7 separate regions of the Homo sapiens genome follow, and all the other regions are linked to region 2. The links are contacts of gene promoters, found by promoter capture Hi-C in human tissues and cell types (Jung and others, 2019). All regions are on one chromosome and are shown on one strand. Each heading gives the region's core, a stretch centred on a gene start or on the middle of the fragment in contact. The rest is flanking DNA. Distances are from core to core; before and after follow the strand shown.

The links. The method cuts DNA at HindIII sites, captures the fragments that hold promoters and counts their contacts. A contact is called where the count stands out against the background at its distance.
Region 1: a contact is called between a fragment that was not itself captured here and the fragment with the promoter of PAPPA in region 2, in 1 of the 25 tissues and cell types used here (mesenchymal stem cells).
Region 3: a fragment that was not itself captured here is called in contact with the fragment with the promoter of PAPPA in region 2 in 1 of the 25 tissues and cell types used here (IMR-90 fibroblasts).
Region 4: a fragment that was not itself captured here is called in contact with the fragment with the promoter of PAPPA in region 2 in 1 of the 25 tissues and cell types used here (mesenchymal stem cells).
Region 5: a fragment that was not itself captured here is called in contact with the fragment with the promoter of PAPPA in region 2 in 1 of the 25 tissues and cell types used here (mesendoderm cells).
Region 6: a fragment that was not itself captured here is called in contact with the fragment with the promoter of PAPPA in region 2 in 1 of the 25 tissues and cell types used here (mesenchymal stem cells).
Region 7: a contact is called between a fragment that was not itself captured here and the fragment with the promoter of PAPPA in region 2, in 2 of the 25 tissues and cell types used here (IMR-90 fibroblasts and mesenchymal stem cells).

Annotation. Positions count from the first base shown.
Region 1 is chr9:116,341,983-116,345,822 of GRCh38, reverse strand. It overlaps PAPPA (pappalysin 1), which reads right to left. Exons shown (of 22, transcript NM_002581.5): 14 at 1,112-1,280. The region is part of intron 1 of PAPPA-AS2 (PAPPA antisense RNA 2); the gene reads left to right. Among named protein-coding and RNA genes, the nearest start is that of PAPPA-AS2, 20 kb to the left of the region's middle. The HindIII fragment of the contact is 7,322 bases long and covers 1-3,840 here.
Region 2 is chr9:116,152,354-116,156,389 of GRCh38, reverse strand. PAPPA (pappalysin 1) reads right to left here and starts at 2,599. Exons shown (of 22, transcript NM_002581.5): 1 at 1,803-2,599. The coding sequence starts at 2,217. RefSeq lists a silencer at 733-822. The HindIII fragment of the contact is 11,414 bases long and covers 1-4,036 here.
Region 3 is chr9:115,937,248-115,941,372 of GRCh38, reverse strand. LOC124902258 (a long non-coding RNA gene) reads right to left here and starts at 1,827. Exons shown (of 2, transcript XR_007061749.1): 1 at 1,709-1,827. The HindIII fragment of the contact is 3,170 bases long and covers 792-3,961 here.
Region 4 is chr9:116,375,212-116,379,254 of GRCh38, reverse strand. PAPPA (pappalysin 1) reads right to left here. Exons shown (of 22, transcript NM_002581.5): 20 at 1,608-1,679. Among named protein-coding and RNA genes, the nearest start is that of PAPPA-AS2, 14 kb to the right of the region's middle. The HindIII fragment of the contact is 3,818 bases long and covers 593-4,043 here.
Region 5 is chr9:116,318,641-116,323,059 of GRCh38, reverse strand. All of the region lies in intron 10 of PAPPA (pappalysin 1), which reads right to left. PAPPA-AS2 (PAPPA antisense RNA 2) reads left to right here. Exons shown (of 6, transcript NR_170222.1): 2 at 3,260-3,437; 3 at 4,316-4,419. Among named protein-coding and RNA genes, the nearest start is that of PAPPA-AS2, 43 kb to the left of the region's middle. The HindIII fragment of the contact is 4,306 bases long and covers 83-4,388 here.
Region 6 is chr9:115,912,095-115,915,904 of GRCh38, reverse strand. The region is part of intron 1 of LINC00474 (long intergenic non-protein coding RNA 474); the gene reads left to right. Among named protein-coding and RNA genes, the nearest start is that of LINC00474, 11 kb to the left of the region's middle. The HindIII fragment of the contact is 3,658 bases long and covers 198-3,810 here.
Region 7 is chr9:115,964,127-115,968,407 of GRCh38, reverse strand. No RefSeq gene overlaps it. Among named protein-coding and RNA genes, the nearest start is that of LINC00474, 41 kb to the right of the region's middle. The HindIII fragment of the contact is 3,892 bases long and covers 1-3,760 here.

The DNA of each region.
Region 1 (3,840 bases), core at 14-2,513, 190 kb before region 2:
AGCACCATCTTGCTGAAGCAACATTCTGTCACATCACTCCAAATCATTCACTACCACCAATCTCACGCAGGACACGTCCTATCTTCCATGACTCCTTTGATGACTGTCTGAGGGAGGGGGTCTCCCTGCTACCAGTCTTACTGCTAGACTCCAAGCTACACCCACATGGAGTATCTAGAAGAGACTTTGTCAACCAGGATCTGACCATGTCATTTCCTGCAACAGCTCCCTGTTGTCCTGAAGATCAACCCCACACTTCCTGACTAAATCAACAGGCCCTGCACCAGTGGATTCAGCTGGCCCTTCCAGCCTCATTGCTTGGGTGAGTACAGAAAAAGAAAACAAACAAACAAAAAAATCTGTGGCATGTTTTTTTTTTTTTTTTTCTCATCAATGTGCTTCCACATACTATCCATGCCTGTGCCTACTACATATATTTCTTCCTTCTCCCCAACACACACCCCTTTGCTGATCTGTCTAGTTAGCTGTTTCCATGTCACTTTTCCAAGGCACCTCCCTTGAATCTCTCTGTGCCTCCACAACACCCTACAATTCCCTTGACAGCATTTATCACACAGTGGGGTCATCATTAATGAGTTGTCTGACTCTTCCTCCACCACTAGGCACTAAGCTCCTTCAGAAGAAGGACTCGATTTGTCTTAATGGCTTCTTTTTCTTTAGTACTTACTATAGCATCCAATTTCCAGTGAACAGATGCTTTGCAATGAATTAGTGAATGAATGAGCATCTCATTGACAGAGGGCTCACCTTGTCATAAAGCAGCCCATTCAATTATGTTCTCACTGTAAGATATTCATTCCAAAATACTCAGCCCCATGGTCTTGGAGATTTGCAACCTACACAAAAACATTGGTAAGTATTGTGTGGAACACTACTCTGCACAGGAACCCTTTTTCTTAGAGATTCCAGACTGCTTGCTTGGTTAATTGATTCATTCATGCATTCATTTAATCAATAAATATTTATTGAGCACCTACTATGTGGCAGCACTATTTTAAGTGCTGCTGGGTATTTAGCAGAGAACATGGTTAACACCCAGTAAGCCTTCCCTGGGCTGCAGAGAGGCTCTGAGCTCAGCACCTGCACATACCTGGCTCTTGATCAGCTCATCATCCCGCCGTATCTGGAGCACGTAGCCTGTCCGGCAGCTCACAGTACACTGGGCACCGTGGTAGCGGTCGCTGCTGGAGCAATTGAGAGAAGCATTCTCCACAGCCAGCTCTGGACAGTCAGTTTTCTCACATGCGAAGTGCACGCAGCTGGGGAGGAAAGAAACGAGGGGAAGAAGGAGTCTCCTCACAGGACAGCTATGCTCAGTTGGAAGATAAAGGCTAAGAGCCTCTTTCTCCAAGATTTCAGGGGGCTTGAGACTGAGGACAGAAAGGGGTGCTGGCTAGGGTGAAGATGACTCTAGAGGCAGCGATTAAAGTTTCTCATTAAGAGCACAAGTTATGGCAACAGACAAACCAGAGTTCAAATCTTGCCACTTGAAAGCTTTGTATGTTATCAAGATTTAAACCTTGAATAGCCTCAGTTTTTCCATTTGTGAGAAAGGGATCATCATGATTACAGTGAATATTTATTGCATTTTTCTACCAGGCACCAGGTTGAGCAAAAGCCTTTTTCTATTTTGTGAGTACCCACTTACAAGGATCATTTTGAGAATTAAATCAGTTTAGAAAAAAACGCATAGCAGAACTCCTGGCATATACTAAGCACTCAGTAAATGGTAGCTGGGCTGGGCGCGGTGGCTCATGCCTGTAATCCCAGCACTTTCGGAGCCTGAGATGGGCAGATCACGAGGTCAGGAGTTTGAGACCAGGCTGACCAACATGGTAAAACCCCACCTCTGCTAAAAAAGAAAATACAAAAAATTAGCTGGGCGTGGTGGCAGGCGCCTGTAATCCCAGCTACTCAGGAGGTTGAGGCAGGAGAATAGCTTGAACCTGGGAGGTGGAGGTTGCAGTGAGCTGAGATTGCGCCATTGCACTCCAGCCTGGGCAACAAGAGTGAAACTCCATCTCTAAATAAATAAATAAATAAATAAATAAATAAATAAAAATAAGTGGTAGCTGATGTTGTAAATATACCTATGCTCTATTACCTAGTTGGCAAAGTACATCACATCTCTGAGCTTCGGTATACTCTTAAATTTGGCCAACCTCATATAGCCACGAGACTCAACTGAGGTGATGGAGGTAGAAGTCTTTTATAAACTGTAAGATAACTTACACATCATTAGTGGAGTTGTACAGAGACTATGTCTTGCATCTTGCTGCAACTCTGAATTCTACCTTTCTGCCAGTCTGAATTCCACCCGTTCTTTAGGTCTAAGCATCATGCAAATTTCCATAGGAAGCTTTCTCTTGTGTCCCTCGGCAAGCACCCTCATGGGTATTCTACCCTTCTTTCTATAATGCTGTTGCCTCATGTTTGATGTATTAAAAACTCAGTTCCTCAGTGCCAGTGGAACATAACAGATTGCAGGCTAATCTTTAAGGATGCAAACAGAAACAGCATGAAATCCTCATTCTTGGATGATCATTCCCCTTGTATTATAGTTAGGCAAGCACTCAATAACATTAGTTACTATTTGCTGATTGCTTATATACATGAGCTCACTCCATCCTTACAACAACCCTATGAGCTAAGCGTTACTCATTTTACAGTTGGGTAAATTGGGGACTGGCAAGATTAGGTTACTTGTTTAAGTGCCCATCCAGAGGGGTGACTCCAAAGGCCTTGTTGTTAACCTTGTCCCATGTTTCTGGACTAGAACGTCCTTGAGGGCAGAGAAAATGCCTATTTCATCTTGGTGTACTTTGCAGTGCCAATAAAAATTCCTTGCAGATGTTTCCTAAATGGCAGGAAACCAATGGTGATGATGCCTTGCAATAGCTCTTAAACACTTTAAAGAGGTTGATTCTGCCTAACAGTAAAAGCTTCTAGGGGGCAGTTTTCTCTGACTTTTGCCTCTCTGACTGTGTCTACCCCCAACACCTGGCCTATCGTATGCACCGATGATTTACATCTAGAACCTCAAGGCTTTTATGTTCCTATTTTTATCTAGGAGACAGGGAGACATTTTGGCCAAACCAGTGTCAGAAAAGTTTTGCACTTTTTTTTTGTCGTTGTTTTTGTTTTTTGTTTTTTGTTTTCTCTCAGTTTCACGATACCCAACTGAGGGTTTTACTGGGATCTATTCCTATTCTCTACCCTCTGCTCAAAAGTATAGTGAGAAATAAAGTCTGGAGGCGGGGGGAGCTAAAAGCTTCCAAAGCATATCACAAACCAATTTACTTTTTTAAAGACCCAGAAAGGACAAGCATTTAATTTAGGTCTCAGACCCTCACTGATGGGAGCTTTGCAGTTCTCCAATACTCTCCTTCTGAAATGCAGGGCAACTGGCATTAAGGAACACTTGTTGAGACAACTCCAATTCTCTGCCCTTTTTCTTACTCCTGACAGCCTCAGCATTGTACCATGTGGAGACCTCAAAGAGACTGTAACTGTGGAGTCAACACAAGGGCTTTGACACTAAACAATGCATCTGTTCACATTGTGTAAGCACCAGGGGAAGGAACCACATGGTTCCAATTTAAATATATTTACTCTGTAAGCTACTAGCTCCCAAGCTGTTCTGACCTGTGCCTAACAGTTTGGGCATTCTTACTCTGCACGCTCAGAAGGTACCTGGGCTCTTATGAAGACCCAGAGGGAAAGATGACTTTCTTCTTTAAGTTGCAGAGCCATTAAAGTATAAATAGTGCCCTCCCCAATTATTTTGTGCACATTAAGTTCTTCTTCACAGGAAAATGA
Region 2 (4,036 bases), core at 1,350-3,849:
CAGTCTCCTGTGGAATCCCAGGTGTTATATATATATATATACATATATATATATACACATATATATATACACACATATATATACATGTATATATATATATACACACACACACACGTATTTATGTAGACACACTTACATAGTTAAAATGCATTCACTACCCTTTCACTGATGATGCCTGCATAACCCTGTGCTCTCCTCTCTCCAGGGAATGCCTTCCAAATCACTGGTACTAGGTAAAGACTAGGAAAAACCAGACCTACAGATTAAAAAAAAAAAAAAATCACCTCCAAGCAGCAGTCTCTTTGCTTTTTCACATGTTTGGAAAGAGAAGTCAACATACTACAGCTCTAAATTATCACCATCGTCATTATTATTATGGATAACGTTTCCTCTGTTCCAAATTAGACCCTCCTCTGGGCAAATAGGGCTTGCGAGTTAAAAGTGAATGAGTTCAGTCTCCTTCTTCTTCCCGGAGGAAAAAAAAAAAGGAAAAATAGCATGCGATGACGTCAGTTGTGGGTTGTTGGGGGGAATCACTGTATCGCTCTCCTTTGATAGCTGGAAAGCGGGGGCTTCGGGAGACGTATTCTTGGGATAGCAGCAGAGTGTGGGTCTCCTAAAGGGGTCTTCATGTCAACTGGATAGTCAGTGCTACATCTGTGAAAGTCCAAGCCATGGAAAGACAGGAAGAAGCAGAACTGCCCGGAGAGCTCACAGCTTTCCCTTCTAAGAAAGTGTGTGTGTGAGGGGGTGGGATCGCAAAACGCCTTCACACGTTTCCTGGCTGCAGTGAAGGGGGAACCCCTACTCTCACTTTAAGACGTCCCAGGACATGGCAAGATTGTTTGTGCAGAAAGGGAATCTCCCAGACAGAAAAGGCAAAACTTTCCTCCTCTCTTCCAGCGCCGCCCCCACCTCCGCTCCCCAGTTTTATTAAAGGCATTTCCACAGATTCATTTAGAGGGGGGAAAATGGATGCTGGAGCATTTCTAAGGTTTGCAATCCTCGCAAAGTGTCCGATTTCACTATAGGCTTTGCTGTGGAACAGCGAAGGGGAGAGAGAGGGAGGTTGAGGAGGGAGAACTCAAATTCATTACGGGCTCATAAAGTCCCATATGAGAAAAGCGCCCCGTTTCGCAGCCGCGTCTGGGGAACGCTGGCGGGGTATGCGTTAGGAAGGTCTCGTCCCAGCCCCGAGTGACAGGCAATGGGCTTTAAAAGCTAGGACATGGGATGGCGTGGAGGGGGTGAGGGTGAGTCCCAGAGGCAGGCTTCAATCAGTGAGCAACTTTGGGGCACTTCGAGGACTTCTAAGTCCTGGCCATTACAACAACCTTGCCCTTGCCGGCTTTCAGGGGAATGGGGCCTAATGAAGGGGAGTTACCTCCATTAAAACGTCAAAGAAATCAACGGTCCCCAAGTCTCCTTTCACATGCATCTCAATTGGGTCATCCTCCCTTTCATCCCAAAAGGAGAGAGTGCATCTGACCATTCGGAGCACGGGTTACGTGCCCTAGGCTCCGGGAACCAGCCCTCACTGGCCGAGGGTCCGCGGGGCCGCCAGGAGGGCTCCCCAGGTTCCTCCCAGGGATGGAGCAGCTACGCCTTCCGAGTGTGCCCATTCCACCGATGGAGCAAAGTGAGGCTCTCAGCTCGCCCGGATGTCTCTGCGCCGCTCGCGGGGCAGCTCTCGCACAGACACGCCCGCAAGCCCCCGACCCGCCCGCCACCCGCGCCCAGACACCCGCGAGCCTCTGGGGCCGCAGGGACGGTGCAGCGCCCGCCGAGGCGCCCTCACCTACCTGTGATCACTGCCGGAGACCTCTGGCCCCCCTCCGCTCGCAGCCACACTTGCAGCGTGAACGCGTCCCGGGGCAGCTCGAGGTCGGCCCGGAGGCGCAGCTGCTCGCCTCGCCCGCTGAAATAGAGCGCCCGGCTCGGCGGGCTCGGCTCCTCGGTGGCGCCCCTCGCCTCCCGCTGCTGCCGCCGCCGGGGGACGCGCACGGCTTCCCAGGCACCGCCCGGCGGCGGCGGCGGCGGCGGCGAGGCGCGGCGGCCGCGGGCCGCCCGGGTGGCGCAGGTGGCCGGGCCGGCGGCGGGGCGCGGGGGTCGGCCGGCCCGCGGGTCTCTCCGGGCCCGGCGGGGACGCTCGGCCAGCCCGCAGCCCAGCGCGGCGCTCAGCAGCCCCAGGTGCAGCACCCAACTCCAGAGCCGCATGTCCGACGGTTCCCCCCGCCCCCCCTTCGCCCCTGCACCGCCACCCGGAGCTGCCAGCTTTGGGAGCCTCGGCGCCTCGACTTTCTTCGCTTCTTCACCCTTCTTGGGCGAGCCCCCCTTTCCACTTGCTTTTTTCTTTTCTTTCTCGCTTTCCTCCTCAAGGTGTGTGCTCCACTCTCCCCACCTTTGAAAAATACAGCCCAACTCCTCCTGGTTGGCAATTAATTTCTCTCCCCGCTCCTTTATCTGCCTTATTTTTCCCCTAACAGCTGGTTGCCTTCCTCCTTGTTTTATTTCATTTTATTTTATATGATTTCTCGCTCCAAAAAAAAGCTCCTCTTAAGACTGATCCGCTGAATTCCCTCCCCCCAAAAGATGCTCTAATTTATTTATTTTTTGCGTCCTTTATAACACAAGCCACAGCCCCCTTCTCCCCCCCCAAGTCCCCCCTCCCCTCCCTCCTTCTTCTCAAAATGAAAGGAAAGAGGGGGAAAAAATCCCTCAGAAGATGAGTAAACAAGCGTATGCTAATCTGCTCCCCAGCGCTCCACCTTCCCAATTGAATGAGTCCCTGTTAAAACTGCGGGGATCATGACTAATCAATCAGTTTGGAGAGGCCGAGCTATCCAGCTTTCCTTCACTTTGCCTTTTGCCTCCTTTCCTTCGCTCCCGCTTCTCCACCACCCCCTCCTTTTCTCTCTCTCTCTCTCTCTCTTTTTTTTTTTTTTTTTTTAAGGAGACAATCTTAAAGTAACAATTTAATGAAATTCTGTACACACCCCCTTACGGTCCTCCCAGCTCTCATTCCTGCTCAAAACACACATTCCTGTTTTTGTTTTGTTTTGCTTGCTTTTTTTCCCTCCCTCACTCCCCCCACTTATTATTATTATTTCTGATGGCAGGAGAAAAATCTGTCTCTTCTCTTAGGATCCCCTTTGCACTTTGCTGGTAAACCTCATCCTTTTCTGTAGCACATAAAGAGTCTTGAAACTTGATTCTTAGATTTTTTTTTTTAATTCTCTCTCTCTGTCTCTCCCTCCCTCCCTCTCCCTCTCTTTCTCTTTTTCTCACTCTCTCCCTTACTCTTCTTCCCGCTTCCTCTCCCTTTACCTCTTTCCCTCTTCTTTTCCCTGTCCTTTTCCCTCTCAGAATTTCCTTAAAGTTGTACGATGATGAACCATTCCCCTCTTTTCTGAGCCCCCAGATAAGGCTGGCTTCAGCTAACCCAAATGTTTCCAAAGTTCTTATGGAATCATCAGAAGAAAATAGAAGAAAGGCACTGTCCAGGACATCTGCCTTTCAGAAGCTGTAGTCCTAGTACAACTGGGTCTCTGAATTTCCCCGAATACTCTTTAAAATACTCTGTTGGTCATTAGAAATTATTTTAATTTTATAAGAAGAAAATGAGAGAAAAATATTAATTTGCCTAATGTTTTCAACTTAAGCAATTCAGGTCCTCTGAAATTGTTAAAGTCACAGGTAAGGATCTGACCATTTGCTGCTTTGTAGGTCTGTTTTTGAACTGGGACATACATGTAATATATTTTTTTCTTCTTTTTTCCCCCTCTTTATAGAACTCAAAAGCTCCCCCTTATGGCAAAACAGATCTTCTTTTATTTTGTCCAAGTGTTTAATAAGTCAAAACATGTTAGCAATGGTGGATTACAAGCTATTAATTACCAATCTATTCCAATAAGGTAGTGATAAAAATATTCTGTGTGAAGTTTGCATGTGAATAGCGTGCTGAAAGTCTGCGATAAAATTAACTCCACTAAATTGTAACTTTCTTCTTCAATTGCTCTTATCTTCCGAGCTGCTC
Region 3 (4,125 bases), core at 1,127-3,626, 210 kb after region 2:
TAAATAATATCGTACATGGATTAAAAGGGTTTCCTATGTTAAAGAAATATAATAAAAACACAAAGATTCTTCATTGGGAGTATATTCAGGTAACTTATTATAATTATTAGATAGTTTAAATTCTGCTGTACCAAAGTTTATTAATTAATTTTTTAAAAATACATAGTCCACGAGGTTTAGAAATGCAAGACGTGTACACTGAAACTACAAGACATTGCTGAAGGAAATTAAAGAAGACCTAAATAAATTGAAATTTAACCACATTTATAGATTGAAAAATTTAATATTGTTAAGATAGCAGTACTTCCCAAATTGAACTATAAATTCAATGCAGTCCCTATCAAAATCCTAGTGCCACTTTCTGCAGAAATTGACAAACTGATTTTAAAACTTATAGGAAAATGTAAGGGACCAAGAAGGACCAAAATGATTTTTAAAAAGGAAAATAAAGTTAAAAATTCACACTTTTTAATTTCATAACTTAAACAAAAGTATGGTATTTAAGAAAATGTTGTACTTGCAGAGAGATAGGCTATAAACTAATGCAGTGGAAATGAAAATTCAGAAGTAAATCCTTACAATATAGTTGATTGATTTTTGACAAGGTTGCCTGGACAAATCGATATGAAAAGAAATAGTCTTTTCAACAAGTGGTGCTGAAACAACTGGCTATCTACCTGGAAAAAAATGAAGGTGGACCCTTCCTTACACTGTACAGAAAAGCTAACATAAAATGGATCATAGACCTAAATATCAGAGATAAAAGTACGAAAGTCTTGTAAGTAAATATAGTAGTATATATTCATGACTTTGGGTTAGGCAAAAGTTTCTTAGATATGATACTGGAAGCATAAGTGAAGACAGAATAAGTAGGCAAACTGGATAAGATCAAGTTTAAAAAGTTTTCGCTTCAAAGGTCGCCACCAAGAAAGTGAAAAGGCAACCCAGATAATGAGAGAAAATGTTTGCAAGCCATATATTTCATAAGAGTCTCTATAAGAGTTTTGTACTTTTATCTCTGTGATCATTCCTTATATATTCTAAAGGCTAAATATATAAGGAATGATCACAACTCAACAATAAAGAGAAATAATGCAATTAAAAAATGAGCACATATCTGAGTAGACATTCCTCTTCAAACAAAGATATAGAAATGGCCAATAAACCCATGAAAAGATGTTCAAGATAATATGACATGAGGAAAATTAAAAACAGAACTACAGTGAGACACTACTTCACATTGACTAGGATGGCTAAAATTTTAAAAGATAGTAAAAAGTTTGACAAGGATGAAAATGGTGGAGAAAATGATACCCTCATATATTGCTGGCAGAAATGTTAAATGGTACACCTCCTTTGGAAATAAACTTGACATTTCTTCAAAATGTTAAACATAGAGTTACCATATGACCTAGCAATTCCAGTCTTAGGTATATAACTAAGAAAAATAAAAATGCACTTTCATACAAAAACTTGTACACACATTTCCGTAACAGCATTATTCATAGTAACAAATTAGAAGCAACCCAATTGTTCATCAACAGGTGAATGGATAAACAAAATGTGATATATATATGCAATGGAATATTACTCAGCCATTTAAAAATGACATACTGATACATGCTACAACATGAATAAATCTTGAAAATATTATGCTAAGTGAAATAAGCCAGTCACAAAAGACCACATTTTAAATGACTTCACTTACATAAAATGTCCTGAGTAGTTAAATCCAAAGAGACGGAAAGTAGATTAGTGGTTTCCAGGGAATGGGTGGAAGAAGAGAATTGGGAGTGACTGCTATAGGGTATGGGGTTTCTTTGAAGTGATGTAAATGTTCTGGAATTAAGTAGTTGTTAAGATTGCACAACTCTGTGAATATATTACAAATCACTCAGTTGTACATTTCAAAAAAGGTGAATTTTAAGGCATGTGAATTATAGCTTGATAGAGCTGTTATAGGGAAAAAAAAAAGGAATCCAGGAGACATGATGACAGCAGTGTCATACGCTGTGAATAAGCCCATTTGATAAAATGAGCAACATTTATTGGATATAGCAACAGTGAGGTCTTTGATAAACTTGGCTAAAGATAGTGGAGAGGTGGGGTAAAACAAGTTTGATTCATTCACCAAATATTTATGAATTACATATTGCACAATGGCATGTGCCATTGGGATGAGATATGAATGAAGGGAAGAAAGCCAGATGATAATGGGTTGATTTGAAAATAGGGGATGAGAAATGAGAGACTAGGAGTATGCACAATTCTTATAGAAGTTAGGTTGCAAAGGGCTGAAAACAAAAATGTTAGTAACTGGAAGAGGACACACACTCAGCTTGTTTTGTGGTTTGTTATCTGGGAGAAACTTCAGCATCTTAACATGGGTGAACATATCCTCTGTGTAGCGCTGATGGAAAGGATTCATGGGAGAAGGAAGGATGGGGTTGATGACACACGATGGCATGGGGATAGCTCAAAGGGACAAGTTCTGGAGAAGTTCACCAGAGCACAGATGGAGGGATAAACTTTAGATAGCAAGGGACACAGCCATATATTGTGATGGAAGAAAGAGAGGAAAATGGATGGAAATGAAGCTTATCTTAAAGACTTGTGGGAGAACACTGAAGAAATTTCCTGTCCTGGATTCTATTACTAATAAAGGAAGGTTTTATCTGTGGAGAGCCAAGAATTGGTAGAGCTTCCAGACTCACTTGGGATCAGTGAAATAGTGGCCAGGGAGGAAGCTTGAGAGGAGCGTGTAGGAGAAACATGAATGATTGCTCTGTGTTGAATAGACAAATCCATAGAGTGTTGAGAGCTCAAGGTCTGAGACTATCAATTTCTTGTAGCCCCAATTCACAGGGTTGGACATTTTTTTTAATTCTCCCAGTTTTCAGCAGCAGTGTTCAGATTGTAACATTAATAAAGCAAATCAGTGAATATTGCATAGTAGAGGAAGTAAAAATATTCTATTGATAAAGGAATTCTTTAAAGTGGGCACCCAGGATCTAAGCTGTGGAAAGAAAGGGAAGTCTGGGCATGACTGGTAGGGAGAAATTAGAGGGGTCAAATGATTGAAGGTATTTTTTCTCTTCTCTCTAATCTGTTTTGGATATCCCTTCCTCCTTTCCATCATCTTTCTTCTTCTATTTCTTCTCCTTTTTTAAGAAGCTGCTCATTTAAGATTACTTTTCTGCCTGGTTGGCATGTTCTTGATCATGAGCTCATCAGTTCTTGAAGAACTGTTGACTGGCAGTTGCCTGTGTGAAGGTTAGGCAGGTTTAGGATGCTAGTTACCTCATGGTTCAGCTTTCACAGAGGGGTTTTCATTTGAATTTCACAGCAATCCTGCCCTCTAAGTGAAGCGAAGAAACAGAATCCACTTCAATGGGCTAGGGGCTAGTTGAATAATGTTCCAAGAGGTTTAGGGACAACTCTATGAAGTCCAGTACAGGGTTGAAATTCAGTTTGATTTGTTTCACTTTTCTCCATTCCATGCTGACAGATCATTTAATTTATATATGGAAATGCATGCATTTCATTCAGTGAAGGGAGTCCTATTTATTTGGAGGGATGTTATTTATAGTAGAGAACTCTTTAAAAATAATAATCCACCACATATTTTAAATATAATTATTACTCCATCAATGTAATCCTTCCTTGGTTTTCTAGATGATCTTTTCAATATATTTATGCTTTGCCCTCCTCCCCTCCCCAAACATTTTCTTTAAATTAGGAACCAAATATGAGCCAAGCACCATCTTAATGATGGTATGAGAAAGAGTCACTATTTACAAGGGACTTAAAATCCATTTGGGAATATAACACATATTTGTATATATGTATGTTGGAGTACATAACATGTTATGTTGGAAAGAGTTCGTTATTTATATTAACTTTTTAAATTTCATGTGATTACCCCGTTTTCCTAGAACATTTATTTGAACACCTGTTCACCCTAATTTAGAAATCAACTTTTCCTTAACATCATTATATTCATGCAATATTCAGATTAGAAATTTATCCTAGTCTCTGAAAATTTGGTGGCAGGAATTGTGTCATTTAGGTATGACAAACTTAGTGTTAATACCTAACTAATTCTTGCTGATTTTAACTGAAATG
Region 4 (4,043 bases), core at 1,252-3,751, 220 kb before region 2:
AAGGCACTATTAGAACAAAGCTAAAGAGGACAGGAGATGAGGGGCACCTGCAAGGGCAAAGGTGATAAACATCACTGGCAGGGCTCAGAGTCTGACAGGTGAGGGTCTCTTGGGTCTCACTGCTGAGTCCAAGGAGGGATTGAATTCCGCTGTCACACTGGTTGCCCAGACCGCCAACTCAGCAGAATGAGTGCCCAGGTAACTCAAGCTTTCTTTTCCCAAAATGCTGGATTGATCCAAAAAGACAGAAGTAAGCAACAGCCACAGGGCCTTGGCTTTGATTTTGCCATTCCTAATTGAAGCCTGAGAGAATGGGGTTCCTAAAGTCAAGTACAATGTCAAGTGCCCTCAGGAAATCCCTCAACAATGCAGAGAAAAAAATGTGTAACCTAGGGATTGTCTTGTGACACAGATCAGGGAATGGATCATAGGCAGGCAGCAGGAGAAAAGCACCAGCCTGGACGTTAGAAGAGCTGGGCTTACGTTTTGTCTTTGTGGTTATCATGCTGTGCAAACTTGGACATTCCATCCCCTCTCTGGCCCTCGTTTTCTACTCTATACACCAAGAAAATAGAGCTAGATCAAATTAAGAGCCTTCCCAGTTTTGGCATTCCATCAAATTTTAGATCCAGCCACTGCCTGGGTCTCTGTTTACCCATTTTAAAAATAAAAGATTAGTTGAGATTAGGTAAAAGAGTCTTTCTGGTTCTGGCATTCTAAGAGTTTCATCAGATACGACTTTTTCTAGGGCATGGTCTGATCCTTTTCACCTGCGTTTGCCTCAGTGGGCTCTGGATGAACCACAGAGATTTGGCCATCCACCTGGAAGGGATTTGGGGCCGCTTTTTCACTGCCAGCTGGGAAGAGCCACAAGGGGCAGAGTGATGTGCAGAAATGTCTTTGAGTTCCGTGGACAGCCCTCCCTTCAGGACACAGCTGATCTCCCAAGAACCATGCTCCTTGAGTCCTCCCAAGCTTGTCACTGACACACAGAGACAGATCTCTATAATTCCAAGCTGTAAGGAATGGCTCAACTGTGAAGTCATAGAATTTAAGGGTTATAAAGGCTCTTTCACTTCAGCTCAATGGTTAGGTCTAAGGCATTCATATTCCTTCTGGGATTGAGGCATGAGTAAATGACTAAGATGTGGGGCAGAAGGAATAGGTCTGCAAGTAAAGGTCATCAGTAAAATGGAAATTAAAAATAAAACCACCTCACCTGACTCTGTAAAGGTTAAATGTAACAATGTTGGTAAATTTCCAACATTAGCATATTCTAGATGGTAAATCATTATAGCCCCCTGCCCTTCCTTTCTTACAGATCCCATATTTTGTAGACCACAGGCTCTGGAGCCACAAAAGCCTGGCTTGGAACCCAACTCTGTTACCCATTCCCTATGCTTTTTAGTATGTTTCTTTATATCTCTGTGCCTCAATTCCATCATCTGTAAAATAAGGCTGCTAATCCCTGTCCAAGAAGTCTGCTAAATGGATATTTTCAACACTCAGTAGGTATGGCAAAGGATAGCCAACATTAATATAACAATAACAATAACAACAGCAGGATTATTTCCAGGGAACTGAGGAGTGCCTTCCTTGTGACTCACCTCACAGCCTTTGACACAGTGAATCAGAGCAGGGTGAGGATACCACTTGAGACCAGCAGTGCAGACAACTCTCTGTGGGAAGAGGGAGAGAAAGGTCAGATGGGCTTGGGATTGGGAGGGACCCACCTCCGTGTTGGCATTACATTTAACCACCTCACCTCTTCTGGGACCTTCCAATTCCTGACCTCACCCTGGCTTTTACATGGAGAACTTGCCCGGGTACTTGCAATAACAGGAGCCACAAGATTAAAATAATATTTGTGTTCACCGCATGTGTCATGGTTCTGTATTTCCCTGGCAGGAACAAGGGTTGAGGAGAAGCAGAACTGGAGGGTAGAGACACGATCAGAAAGGCCTTTCAGAAAATTCTCGACTAATATTCGACCCATTCGTGGAGTTGGGATAAGGTGGGGGGAGGAGGGGTGTGTGTGTGTGTGCGCATGTGTGTGTTTGCATGTGTGTGTGTGTATGTGTGCATACATGTGTGTGACTGCAGCAGGCGGATGGGAGAAAACTGTGGAGCAGCATTTCTCAAAGCATGAGCTGAAGACCACTTTCATCAGCATTGCCGTGGGAGTGTGTTTAATTAACGGCAGATTCCTCAGACCTGCTTTGGATTTAATGAATTGGACTCTCTGAGACCAGGCCCTGAGACTCTGCATTTTAGCAAGCCTTGCAGATGATTCCAATGCACACTACAGTCTGAGAGCACATGGGCTATTATGAACCAACCTATGGTTCAAATCCCTGGAAAGGCAGAGAACCCCTCTGCTGTCACCTGCTGCCGTGTCATACTGGTCTGCCCACAGTTCTCTGAGGTTGCCCACAGTGAATTCGTTCTTGCTCTTCCCCTTCCCTGAATGCCCTTCCCCATTTTGTCACTTTGAGAATCTTTTAAATGTCTGCTCAAAATTTATGTCTTCTTTGGCACTTTTCCTAGCCCCGTTAGGCAGAGCTTATAGGCACTTATTTATAGCCTCCTCTTTAAAAATAATAATTATGATGAAGATAATGACAACTAAAATATATTGAGTATATTCATTGTGCTAATTACTGTATGCATTATCTTATTTATTTCTTGCCATGATGATGTGAGGTGGGCATTAATCTTGTGTCATAAGAGAGTAAATTCCCCATGCTCCATAGCTGTTTGGTGGAGAAACCAGGATTTGAAAATAACCAGTTGTTTCAGAAATGATTTAATAAAGCTCATAACATAAAATCCAACATGATGATATTTTAAAAAGTGGGTGAAATAAGAAAGCTAAATAAGACTAGAAAGATAACATAGTATTAGGAATACAGTTACCATAAAAATTCTAGAAGCTTGGCCAGGCGTGGTGGCTCACGCCTGTAATCTCAGCACTTTGGGAGGCCGAGGCAGGTGGATCATGAGGTCAAAAGATCGAGACTATCCTGGCCAACATGGTGAAACCCCGTCTCTACTAAAAATACAAAAATTAGCTGGGTGTGGTGGCATATGCCTGTAGTCCCAGCTACTTGGGAGGCTGAGGGAGGAGAATCGCTTGAACCCGGGAGGCAGATGTTGCAGTGAGCTGACATCATACCACTGCACTCTAGCCTGGCGACAGAGCGAGACTCCGTCTCAAAAAAAAAAAAAAAAAATCCTGGAAGTTCCCTTTTCTATTCTCCATGGATGCCCCAGTTTTCATGCCAGATTACAATTATTTCTTTAAAGAATAAAATGAAATAAAATAAAATGGTACATGCTTAGATGTGTAGTGACAGGTAACTGTGAACAACCAACTATGGAAGTCCACATGATCAGAGGTTGTTCAACTGACTGAGAGGCCAGTTGATTAATTTTAATTAAAAAATGAAGAGTCACCTGGGCCAAAATGTGGAAAATCCATGTAAACAGCCTATTCTCTCCCTGAGGGCAGACCTATATGGTAGCCAAATTGTAATTAGGCCTCTTGGTGAGGCTGTGACAGAGGGAATCAGGTGACCCCAAGACTGGATTGGGTGCCTTTCTTCTCTGCTCCATAAAATCTCAGGTTCACATTAGATATGCCATGCCTTCAGGAATGCCTGACAGAGGGGATGCTAAATAAATATTTATTTTATAAAGGAACAGATTCTTCTCAAAATAGAGATGATTTTACCAGTGGACAATAATTTCTTTACTTGTCTTCCTGTCTTCTAGAGCATCAGAAGATCATCTAAGGTCAAGCACTAGACTTGTCCTCTAAACAAGTCTAGTTTAGAGGATCAGTTTAGTATAGGCTGAATGTAGCCACTATCAACCTTCAAGTAAATCAAAGACCTTGGAGAAAGAGCTTAACTTGATGATCTTCCAATCAGTCTTGCAATGTGAAATCTACTGTCTTGCATCTTACTGCTTCTATTGAAATTGTCTACCCATCCCCAGTACACGCATAAAGTGGTATATGGGAAAAGTCATGGGATATGATA
Region 5 (4,419 bases), core at 986-3,485, 170 kb before region 2:
CACACAGGGGACATGCCATGAGGTTTCCATTGAATTTCGATTTTACAGATTTACATGCCCTTTTGTCAATCATGGGAGGGAGGAAGTGCTCATCAAGCCTCTAGTCCAACCTCTCCAATTTCCTTTTTCCACCCAAAGGGACCTGCGAATGAGCCTTATAGAAGAAAATAGGAAAAGGAATGGGGAGGAGGAGTGCGGGGATGGATACTGACACTAACAGTACCCATAAATGTACAAGTGTGCAACACACACAAACACAGACACACACACACACACACACAGCCAGCCAGTGTTTCTCAATATTTCTCCTTAGGCCACATTTTAACCTCAGGCTTGCAGTTCCAATGCCAGGTTATTTCCCAAGAATTGCAAGGGTGCAAGAAGGACAGAAGTTGGTTTCCTGATATAAACCTCCAAGATTCTTAAGGGTCCTGAGGACTACAGGAGGGAAAGCCTGCTGGGAGACAGCCTATAAGACTACAGCTGTAAAGGGCCTCAGGGAACCTGGACACAGAATGGCCCAGGTGAAATAAAACCTCCTCCATAAACCAGGCTTTGCTGTTTTTATCAGATGATGTTCTCCCTCCTCAGTGCTTTCCTGGGAGAGTGAGAGAGGGCACCAGCTCTTTTTTTTTTTTTTTTTTTTTTTGAGACTAAGTCTTCCTATTGTACCCCAGGCTGGAATGCGATGGCACGATCTCAGCTCACTGCAACCTCTGCCTACCAGGTTCAAGCGGTTCTCCTGCCTCCACCCCCCGAGTAGCTGGGATTACAGGCTCCTGCCACCACACCCAGCTAATTTTTGTATTTTTAGTAGAGATGGGGTTTTTACCATGTTGGCCAGGCGTCAGGTGATCCACCTGCCTTGGCCTACCAAAGTGCTAGGATTACAGGCGTGAGTCACCGCGCCTGGCCAGCACCAACTCTTAAAGATGGTCTGCCCAGTATGGGTGCTGCCTGTGTATTATCTCATTTTACCTTCCTAATAATCTTGTGAAATAAGCATCTTTATCCCCAATTGAGATATAAGGACTCTGAGGTTTGGGTAGGCATTGATCAGCCTGCCACGGCTTAGCAGTCAAACTCATGCTCGTCTGACGCAAAGTCTGTTCTCTTCTTACTCCATGGCTTGACCTCCCAATAACTCTTGGTCCATACCCTTGAGGTAATACACTTGCATTATGGTTTCTTGTTTGTCCATCTGAATCTCCATGTATGAGCTTCAAAGACAGTGCCTATGCCTGACTTCTCTTTCCTTTTCATCAGTGTCTAATGCAGGTTACTGGGCAGGGCTCACCAAATGTCCCCTATGTTAAACTAATATGGCTTTCCCAAGGCTTTATAAGATTGGTGACGCATTAGATCTAGAAATCAAAGTCTATAGGGCCTAGACCAATGTTTAGAGATAATAATAACCATGTAGTGCAGGAAAGGGACCAGGAGAACCAGGACTCATTCCCACGTGACATCAGTGCTACCATTCTCTCATCCATTGCACAGGACAGGCACCATTAATTACATAGTGCATCCCTGAAGGTAGGCCTCTAAATCCTTCTCAACAAAACACTATGGGGAGTCACTCTAATTGCTCAGAACTGGCCTAGAAGATGAATCCTATTTGCAATTCTTGAACTTGGTCATTAGCTCACTGAGGGGAAGAATGAGCTCTTGTCTTTTCTATCTTCAGTATTAAGAGCAGAGGAAGGTCCAGCTTAGATGCTAAGCGAATGTATGGCCAGGCGCGGTGGCTCACGCCTGTAATCCCAGCACTTTGGGAGGCTGAGGCGGGCGGATCACGAGGTCAGGAGATCGAGACCATCTTGGCTAACACGGTGAAACCCTGTCTCTACTAAAAATACAAAAAATTAGCTGGGTGCGGTGGTGGGCGCCTGTAGTCCCAGCTACTCGGGAGGCTGAGGCAGGAAAATGGAGTGAATCCAGGAGGTGGAGCCTGCAGTGAGCCGAGATAGCACTACTGCAGTCCGGCCTGGGTGAAAGAGTGAGACTCCGTCTCAAAAAAAAAAAAAAATGTATAACAACAATACCACTTTACATGTCTCATCTCAGTTAATGCATATAATGAACAAACACAACTCAAATCTTCCAACTTCAGGTTCAGGGCCTCTCCCACTACCTGCGGAGCACTATAGACCTCTCCTACCTGAGATCTTCTCTTCATTCCTACTTCTATCCCTGCTTCCCTCTTATGCCTCTAATTCCAAACTGACCAATGAACACAGAAAACTTTAAGGGAAGCCGAGGGTTAACAGATACACAACACAACACAACACACAGGCACACACACACATACACATACACACACACTTCCTTTTTACACACTTAATAGCAATGGCAGAAAAAAGAGAGGGGGGAGCCAGGCTTTCTTTTACCAACCATTAGAAACAATTATCACTTTCCCCAGGCCTCCAGAGCAGCTTTCCCCTTTGATGCCTGCCTTAAAGAGATAGAGGGGAAAGGGAGGGGTGGTTTGCGTTTCTTTCAATATGAGCATTTATTATTCGGCATAGACAGACAATCAAGGAAAGAAGCATTTCCTGTGTGCAGGGCCAGAGTGTGAAACAGAGAGATGGCTTCTTCTTCCCTCCCAGAGTTCTAGAAATAGCAGCAGATCTCAGAGCCTCTACCCAGGAGACACTTTCTGATAAGATAACTTGGCATTGGATGCCCTCCAGCCTTGGGGCTCAGCTCTGGGCTGATTAGCACCTCGTTGCTCCAGGGATCTGTCCCTAACACATTAGGCATTTCACACTCCTTAGGGGTCTCATACCCTTCAGGCTGGCACCTCCCCACAAGTCTGAAATCCTGGGATTTAGGGTGCAAACCCCTGGCCAGACCAAATGATCATGGAGGAAAAGCCAGGCTTTCAATGGAAAGGGAATATAGAAATCATATAAGACGTATTGCCCTACAGCATACTAACATTTTTACAGATAGGGAAACTAAGTTTCTTAGAAATGATATGGTTCAGAATCATAGAATTGATTCTTAGAGACTACTCATTAAATTCCTCAATTTCATACACACAGGTTCAGGATTTCTGGGGGACAACAGATAGATGTCTCAACCTTCTTCTAAGGGAAAAGCTTATGTTAGAGGCCTAAGACACCATTCATGAAAGTGGTAAAGCTAACATGTTTTCTTTGCCATCATTTACTGTCCAGCACCTATGTTCCAAACATAGATTCCCCACATTCCCGGGAAGCCAGTATTACTATCCTCCTTCTTGTTTGTCCTACAGATAAACAGCCTGGGCTCAGAGGTAATAAATAAGGTGCCAAGGCCACACCTGTTCGGAGTGGATGTTGAAGTCTGTGTTACTTCAGTTCTATCTCCTATTCCCAGTCCATTCTGCAGATGAGAAAACTGAGACCCACACAGTGTACATGCTGATCTTAATGAGAATGATGACAATAACGGTGAGGATGATAAATATCCAAATGCTTCCACCTCCATGGACACCATCCTTATGTCACTGTGATGGGGAGATTCATCACCCACCCCACCCCCTTTTTCAAATGGAGAAAGAAAATTCACAATAGCAGTGGAAGTACTGATTAATATAATGACACTAGTCACTCATTTATATTGCATGAAATGTTAGTTCTCACACCTCTACCCCATGGGGTTGGCATCAGCTCCCCGTTCTGCAGACAGTACAGCCAGGCATTGGGCCGAGTCCCTTCCCAGATGCCCGTTTTGAGGAGGAGATGGGCAGGGGGCTTGAGCTCCTCCAGCTAGTAAATCCTCTAACAAGGGAGAGTGATTAGTGTCGGATGTGGCGGCCGCCTTTTGTGCTGCTGACAACTGCTGCCATTAAAGGCCTGGCTGGGCTCATTTCACACGGGCCCTCCGCAGGCCTGCTCCCTGTCTCCCTAATTATGCCATTCACTAGTCGCCCAGGCCCGCCTATGAACTCCTGACCCAGCAGTGAAAGACTTGGGATCTCATTACTAATCTCTTAAGCCACCTAGTCCTCCAAAATACATCCATTTAAGTTGGAGGCCAAGGCTTTGGGGTGGGAGGCGGGGAGAGGGAAAGTCTGGCACAGAGACTTCTCATGACATGGCCATTTCCCCTTTCGGGAGACTGTGGCCTGAGCCACAGGGCAGCTGGCATGACTGTCCGGCTCAGCCCAGGGCAGGCCCTGCTGAGGGTCGGCGGCTGGGCCTCAAGAATAGGAGGCCCTTGGATGGGAAGGGGGAGGACATCTGGGCCCACCTGTTTGTAATTTCAGGGGTGCGGGTGGGGGATGAGGCCTGTGTTTGTTTTAATTATTATTATTGTTGTTGAAAAGGGAGGAAAAAAATGAGCAGAAACTGCTAACATCTGGAGGCTGCTGTCCAGTTTACGTAATCTCTTGCTGCAGAGGAGGAACACGGGATCCCCAGCCAGATGGTC
Region 6 (3,810 bases), core at 777-3,276, 240 kb after region 2:
TACTAAATTGGTACCTTTTGAAAAAAATAACTTCATTTTATTTTATTTTGAGACAGGTTCTCACTCTGTAGTCCAGGCTGAAGTGCAGTGACATGATCTTGGCTCACTACAACCTCCGCCTTCTGGGTTCAAGCAATTCTCCGGTCTCAGCCACCCGAATAGCTGGAATTACAGGCGTGTGCCACCAGGCCTGGCTAATTTTTGTATTTTTCTGTAGAGACAGGGTTTTGCTATGTTGGCAGGCTGGTCTTGAACTCCTGATCTACAAGTGATAGGCCCACCTTGGCCTCCCAAATTGCTAGGATTACAGACATGAACCATCGTGCCCAGCAGAAAAAAATAACTTTAAAAGGAAGTACATTGACAGGCTTTATATTATGACATTTTTTATCATAATGTGATAAAAAAGTAATTAAAGGAAACAATATGAAAAAAATTAACCACTTATTTAAAAAATATTTGAGTGCCTATACCCTATGCTAGCCCTATTCTGTGTGCTTAGGATTTATCAGTGAACAAAGTAGATGGAAATCCTCTCTTTTTCAGAGCATACCTTCTAAAAGGGAACTAAAAACAAATTTAAATAAATATACACGTTTGTTAGAAAGGAGTAAGTATGGGAAAAACAAGGCTTTAGGGAGGATGCAAATTGCAGTTTGAAATAGGGTGATCAGAGTGAGCCTCACTGAAAAAAATGGCATTTGAATGAGCATTGTAGGTGTTATGGGAGTCAGCTTTGAAGAAGAGTATTCCGAGTAGAGATCACAGCTGGTGCAAGGATCCTGAGGCAGGAGGATGCCTGTCATATTTGAGGAATAGCAGGGAGACAGGTAGAGAAGGCAATCAAAGTGTGATGCTTTGACTATCCTAGCCTCTCCGCCAACACACAATTCAGGGCCTACCCTCCCAAAGCCATTTCTAAGCCTCTCCCTAAGCCCCTGCTCTGCTGCAGTAGGCCACACTATGTTACGTTCGTTCCTCTTCACTTTCTAACTCCACACATGGAGCAGGAAACCACGTACATCATGGAGTATTATTATTCCAGCTCTCCTCTTTTTCTATAGAAACCACAATAGTGGACTCAGTCTGGAAAACATCACCAGGATAGAATAAAAAACATACACACAAAAAAATCTAAGTTACACAGAAGCCTGGAACTGACGTCCCCAAATCCTGTTTCAAACACAAGCCTGGAATTGACACCCCAAATGAGCTTCCACAAGATGACTCAAGGCCAGTCTTCATCTTGCTTCAGTATGTGCATGATAGCCACTAAGAGAAACTGATCTTGAATGTTTCCACAACTTGAATGTTTCATCCTGGAGTGGAATTTATAAAATGGAAAGAAAAAAATAATGATTTGTGGTATAAGTAACAATGCTGCCTCTCAGACGTATTCCGCCCCTGTGATCTGGATTCCATTTGGATCGAACATTTTCATAGATGTACACACACAGGGTGGTTCCCATTGCTTAAATTCGTACTCATAACTCAGCTTTAGTATCCCAAAAGGATCTAGTGATGGATCTCACAATCTTGTAGAGAAAACTGTTCAAGATTTTAACTGAAGTCGTTGACCTCCAAATCTTCTGTGATTTTATTCCTGAGTATTTCTGAAGAAGGAAAATTCTGGATCCTTTTCCCCACGTTCAGTAAAAGCTACATAATTTCAGTCCTCGAAAGCCAGAAAACCTACATATTTGCTGGTCATGATTTGGTGCATTTAATAGTGTGCAGCTCCTTTTGAAAGACCTAAATGTTGTTATAATATTTCTGATGAATTATCCAAAACACATTTTTGCTCTCTGATTTTTCCCCAGTGTCTCTAAAAACCATTTTGACAATGCTACCAAATAACTGTACTTTTTGTCAAGATGCTTAAAATTCATCAAACTCTTTTTTATCTGTAAGAAAGAATCCTGTAACTGGAACAGAATGACAAAGATTTGACACCTAGCACTTCCATGTATTACTTTCTGATCTGAAGCCAAACACTTAGGCATTCTGCACTACAGTGTCCAAGTCTGACTAAGCTACTCACAAGAAACTATGCAACTGTACTGTGGATTAAGCTTTGCCGGATAACTATAAAGTGATATTCAAGTGAAAGAGGCATTAAGGTCTGCTGCTGGTGGTCATGGAGGTCTCCTTGTCCCTGACGTAAAATTCTATGACATACAGCGCAGTTGCTTAGATTTTTCTAATCCTTTAAAAAAATCAAAAGCACTCACATGTGCATTTTCTTATTCTACTCATATTATGTCTGTTTCCTTTGGGAGTTAACCCCTCTGAGTCCCAAATCTATATCTTACAGCTCTTGAAACACCATCCTGTTTCTCACTAGGAGGATCAGTTTATGTTAATAATTAAGAACTTAGACTCCAGGGCCAGAAAGATTGCAAATTCTTTCACTCACTAGCTGCCATGGATACATTTCTTCACTTCTCTAAGGCCAAGTTTTACAAAGTAAACATAATAATGGTAATTACTATATAGGATGTTGATTGTATTTAATGAAATAATGCATATAATTATTTTAGCATAGTGCCTGCTACATAGCAAATGCCTTAAAATTGATTATTATTGTTGTTGTTGCTGTTGTTATTAATATTATTATTTAACCATAAATGTTATATAACTCTGTTTTTTAAATTAGGCATTGAGATTTTGTCTGCCAAGAAAAATGACTCTGGGTCATTAAGGTTAAAATGTTTAACATGAATATAATGTTATTAATACACTTTTCTCATAGATCATCACTTCTTTAAAAAAGAAAGCCATTCTGATGCATTATTCTGATCTCTGTGTTAAAAGGAGTTTGGAGTGGAGGATGGTGGGGAACTGAACCATCAGGTTTAACTGAGAATCCATTGTAATTAAGGTGCTGGGCTAAGAATAGAATTGAGATATTTGGACTCTAATCAATATGTACTTAAAAGAGAGAGGCCTTTCAAGTGGAAGAGAAAAGGGTATTTGACCAGCAATTCCTCTGCTACCATGTACACTGCTCCCTCCAATTTCTCTAACAAAACACACACGTAGAAACTTCGATGTCCAGGTTACTTTTACTAGCTATTCCCAGTTTGTCCAGCTCTCATTACAACCTGATGCCTTTTTCCCTGAGAGATGAAAAAAAAAAAAAAAAAGCTTGAAGTTTATGCAGGTACTTTGTTGCAATACAGATCCCGATGAAATTTATGATCTTGCAGACTTCTGTTTGAATCTTAGCTCTGACATTTACATTAGCTGTGTGACCTTGAGAAGATTCTGAGCATCTCTTGACATATTTTCCTCTGATCCAATGTGATGATTAAATGAGATAATTGAATCTATCGTTTCTTGAGTGCCTATCATTCTTCTTGTCCTAGGCAAGGTGAGAGATACCAAAAAATCTTTACATAGAGTCCAACTTTAGGAGAGATGAGATATGTATGTAAATCACACTGCGCTATTATGCACATAATGATGACTTAATAAATGATAGCTGTTTTATTATTGTTATTATTATTAGCAGTAATCGTATGATCATGATTATCTGCTATTGAAGAGCACTGGGCAAGAGAAGACACATAGGTTTTCTAGGCAATGGGAGCAACCAGAGCAAATGTGTTTGGGCTGGAACCCAAATGTAACTGGGACACTGAATGCATGTGTAAAGCTGACAACACTTAATAATTGCAAAACTCAGGAAGTAAATGTTGAGTCTTAACCCTACCGCCACTCCCCAGTACACACTGGTAAGTGCAAAACCAAAAGTAGAAGGCGAAGATTTTGATACACCTCAAGGCAGCTCATTTTCCTGCATCCTTA
Region 7 (4,281 bases), core at 565-3,064, 190 kb after region 2:
TAGCAGTGTAGGAAGGAACTAATACAGAATGGGGCATTGCTATGAAGATAACTGAAAATGTGGAAGCAACTTTGGAACTAAGTAGTGGGCAGAGGTTGGAAGAGTATGGAAGGCTCAGAAGAAGACAGGAAGATGATGGAAAATTTGGGACTTTCTAGAGACTTGTTAAATGGTTGTGATGAAAATGCTGATAGTGATATGGACAGTGAATCCAGGCTGAGAAGGTTTCAGATGGAAATGAGGAACTGATTGGGAACTGGACTAATGGTTGCTTTTGTTACACATTAGCAAAAGACTTGGAGGCATTGTGCCTCTGCCCTAAGTATCTGTGGAATCTTGAACTTGAGAATGATTATTTAGGGTATCTGGAGGAAAAACTATCTAAGCAGTAAGGAGTTCAAGAAGTAAGCTGGCTGATTCTAACAACTTATCTCATATAGATGAGCAAAGAAATGACCTAAAACTGGAATTTATATTTAAAAGTGAAGCAGAGCATAAAACTTGGGAAAATTTGCACTCTGGCTATCCGGTAAGAAAAAAAGGAGCCCTTTTTCAGGGGAGGAATTCGAGCCAGCTGTAGAAATTTGCATAAGTAAAAAGGAGCCAAGTGGTAATAGCCAAGACAATGGGAAAAAGGTCTCAAAGGCATTTTGGAGACCTTCACAGTAGCCTCTCCCATCACAGACCCAGAGGCTCAGGAGGGAAGAATGGTTTCCTGGGCTAGGCCCAGGGCCCCACAGCCCTGCACAGCCTCTGGACACTGCTCCCTGCATCCCAATCACTCCAGCTCCAGCTGTGGCTAAAAAGGTCCCAGGTATAGCTCAGGCCATTACTTCAGAGGGTGCAAGCCATAAGCTTTGGCAGCTTCCACGTGGTGTTAAGCCCATGGGTGCACAGAGTGCAAGAGTCAAGGCTTGGGAACACCTGCCTAGATTTCAGAGAATGCATGGAAAAGCCTGGAGGTCTAGGCAGAAGCCTGTTGCAGGGGTGGAACCTTTATGGAGAACCTCTACTAGGGCAGTATAAAGTGGAAATGTGGGGTTGGAGCCCCCACATAGAAGCCCCACTGGGACACTGCCTAGTGGAGCTGTGAGAAGAGGGCCATGATCCTCCAGACCCCAGCATGACAGATCCATTGACAGCTTGCAAGGCGTGCCTGGAAAAGCCACAGGCACTCAATGTCAACCTATGAGAGAAACCATGGAGGCTGAACCCTGCAAAGCCACAGGGGTGGAGCTGCCCAAGTCCTTGAGAGCCCACCCTTTGCACCAGTGTGCCTGGATGTGAGACACGGAGTCAAAAGAGATTATTTTGGAGCTTTAAGGTTTAATGGCTGCCTTGCTGGGTTTCAGACTTGCATGGGGACTGTAGCCCCTTTCCTTTGGCCTATCTCTCCCTTTTGGAAAGGGTGTATTTACCCAATGCCTATACCTCCAATGTAGCTTGGAAGTAACTAACTTATTTTTGATTTTCCAGGCTCACAAGCAGAAAGAACTAGCCTTGTCTCTGATGAGACTTTGGACTTTGGACTTTTGAGCTAATGCTGGAATGAGTTAAGACTTTGGAGGACTATTGGAAAGGCATGACTATATTTTGCAATGTGAGAAGAACGTGGAGTTTGGAAGAGCCAAGGGTGGAATGATATGATTTGGATCTATGTCCCCACCAAATCTCATGTCAAATTGTAATCCCCAGTGTTGTAGGTGGGTCCTGGTGGGAGGTGATTTGATCATGAAGGCAGAGCTCTCACGAATGGATTAGCACCAACCCTTTGGTGCTGTTCTCATGATAGTGTGTGAGTTATGATATCCGGTTGTTTAAAAGTATGTTATATTTCCCTCCTCTCTCTTGGTCCTGTTCCTTTCAAGTAAGATGCCTTCTCCTTTACCTTCCCAAATGAGTAAAAACTCTCTGAAGCCTCCCCCAAAACAGATACCATCATGTTTCCTGTACAGCCTGTGAAACTGTGAGCCAATTTTACCTCTTTTCTTTATAAATTACCCAGTATCATGTATTTTTAATAGCAGTATGAGAACAAGCTAATACACATGCCAACTACATTTCATAAATATCCTTAATTCTCACGGTATGAGAAACAGGTGGTATATGCCCATTTTACAGATGACAAATTGGAGTCTGAAAGAAACTAAGTGACTTGCCTAAGTCTCTGTAGCTAATAAACAATGAAACTGGAAATCAAGTCAAGTTCTTTCCAACTCTTCGTATCTCAATTGTATTGTGTCTATATTCAAAACAGATTTGACTTCGTTAGTTTCAAATTCAGAGGTGCATAGCCAAATCTGTCTTTAATGCCCTTTGAAGTTATACATGGTTTTCAAGCTCGTGACTACTATTATTGGATCTCTACCATGTCCCAGCATTTTCATATACTATTGAATCATTTTGGATCCTGATGAGAATCTAGCCTGGTGAACATTAATTTCTTCATTTGCAAAATGAAGAAAATATGATTAAAGAAAGAAAGCAGAGCTTTCCTAAAGCCTGCATATTAAGTAGGTGGCTCACACAAAATTTAAGCATTGGTTGGCTAAATTCAAGATCAGAGATGTTTTCATTGTAATATATAATATTGATAGTGTTAAGTACCGTTTTGGTCATTCAAAAAAGGGAATTATTTTACATGACTGGGGAGTTAGAATAGACTCTATGAAGCAGGGAGGTTTTTGACAGCACTGGAAGAAAGCATGGAGTTTGGATAAACACAGATATGAGTAAGAAGGAAGAACATTTTCAAGATCAGAGATGTTTTCATTATAATATAGAGGTAGGGGACTTAGGAAGATCTCATGGAGTATATAGGGATTGATGTTTGCCAATATGGTCCTCAAACATAATTGTGCATAAGAATCAGCTGGAAACTTGTTAAAATTCCCATGAATTACTGGGCTCAAATTTACAGATTCTGATTCAATATGTCAAACATGATAACTAGGAATCTGTGTTTCTACCAGGTCCCCAGATTAATGTGCTGCAGGTAGATTTCTTAGACCCTACTGACCACCACCCAGGGCTTCTAGCCTGGACATTTAGCGAGGCTCAACTTTTGAAATCCTTTATTGCTGTTCCCAGCACTGAGGGAGAAAATGACACATCTCCTTCTGGAAGGAGGCAGAGGCTTGGAGCTTCCAGTCCTGAGTATTCTGCACTTGGCTTCCGTTCTCTGTGTCGATTAGGCCTTTCAAACCAATTACCATTATATATTGCTGAGATTTATAGTCCTTGGTATTTGAGGTTACAAGACTTCCGTTCTCAGGAAGAAGCTCCATGCCATCACTTCTAATCAGCTCAGCACAATGTCTGATTTCCCCTCTGTAAGAGGGCACAATGTTCCATTAGAGTATTAATAGCCAGGCAGAATGGCCTCAATTGCAGTGCTTGGGGAAACATAAAAATTGGCTTTGGGGGTCCAAATTTTTAAAGAACTGTGCTCCTTCTTATCAAAATAAAGACAATGACTCAACAAAAATGGCTAAGAAAAAAAATCCCTGACTTCCAATAGGTAGAGTACAGTACATAGAAAATGAATCTCTCCAAAATGTGGGCAAGATAGTCTTTCCTGGGCTTACTATGATAAAGAGAGAATTTGCTCCAAGTTCAAAGCACAAATAATATATAGCACAGTCTGTGAACAATTAATTTATTTAATATTTACTAAATGTTATGATTTAATTGGCAAGCAGATGAGTACAAGACAGCTGGGTGTATATCTTCCATAACCATTATTTCATTCATTTATTCATCTATCCATCCATCCATGTCTTCATTTATCCATCCACTATCCACCATTTACTCAAACAATTACTGAGTGCTATTTGCCAATCATTATATTATGATGTTGAAATATTCAAATATTCCATCTTCAGATAATTTACAATCCACTCAAGAAAGACGTCTAATGCTTCTCCATTGCCTATAGAATTCAGAAAGTCCTAAAACCTTTTACCCTGTACTTCTAGCCTACATTTTCAGCCTCATTTCTCAGCCCTTTTATAATATATAAGCTAATCTATGTATCTTTGCACTTTCTGTTTCCTCAAACAAAAAATGTCCTTCCTTCTTACTCATACCTGTGTTTATCCAAACTCCATGCTTTCTTCCAGTGCTGTCAAAAACCTCCCTGCTTCATAGAGTCTATTCTAACTCCCCAGTCAGGTAAAATAATTCCCTTTTTTGAATGACCAAAATGGTACTTAACACTATCAAGTGCAATTACTCTTTGCTCTGTCTCACAGAATTTTTGTTAATATGTCTTTTCATCTC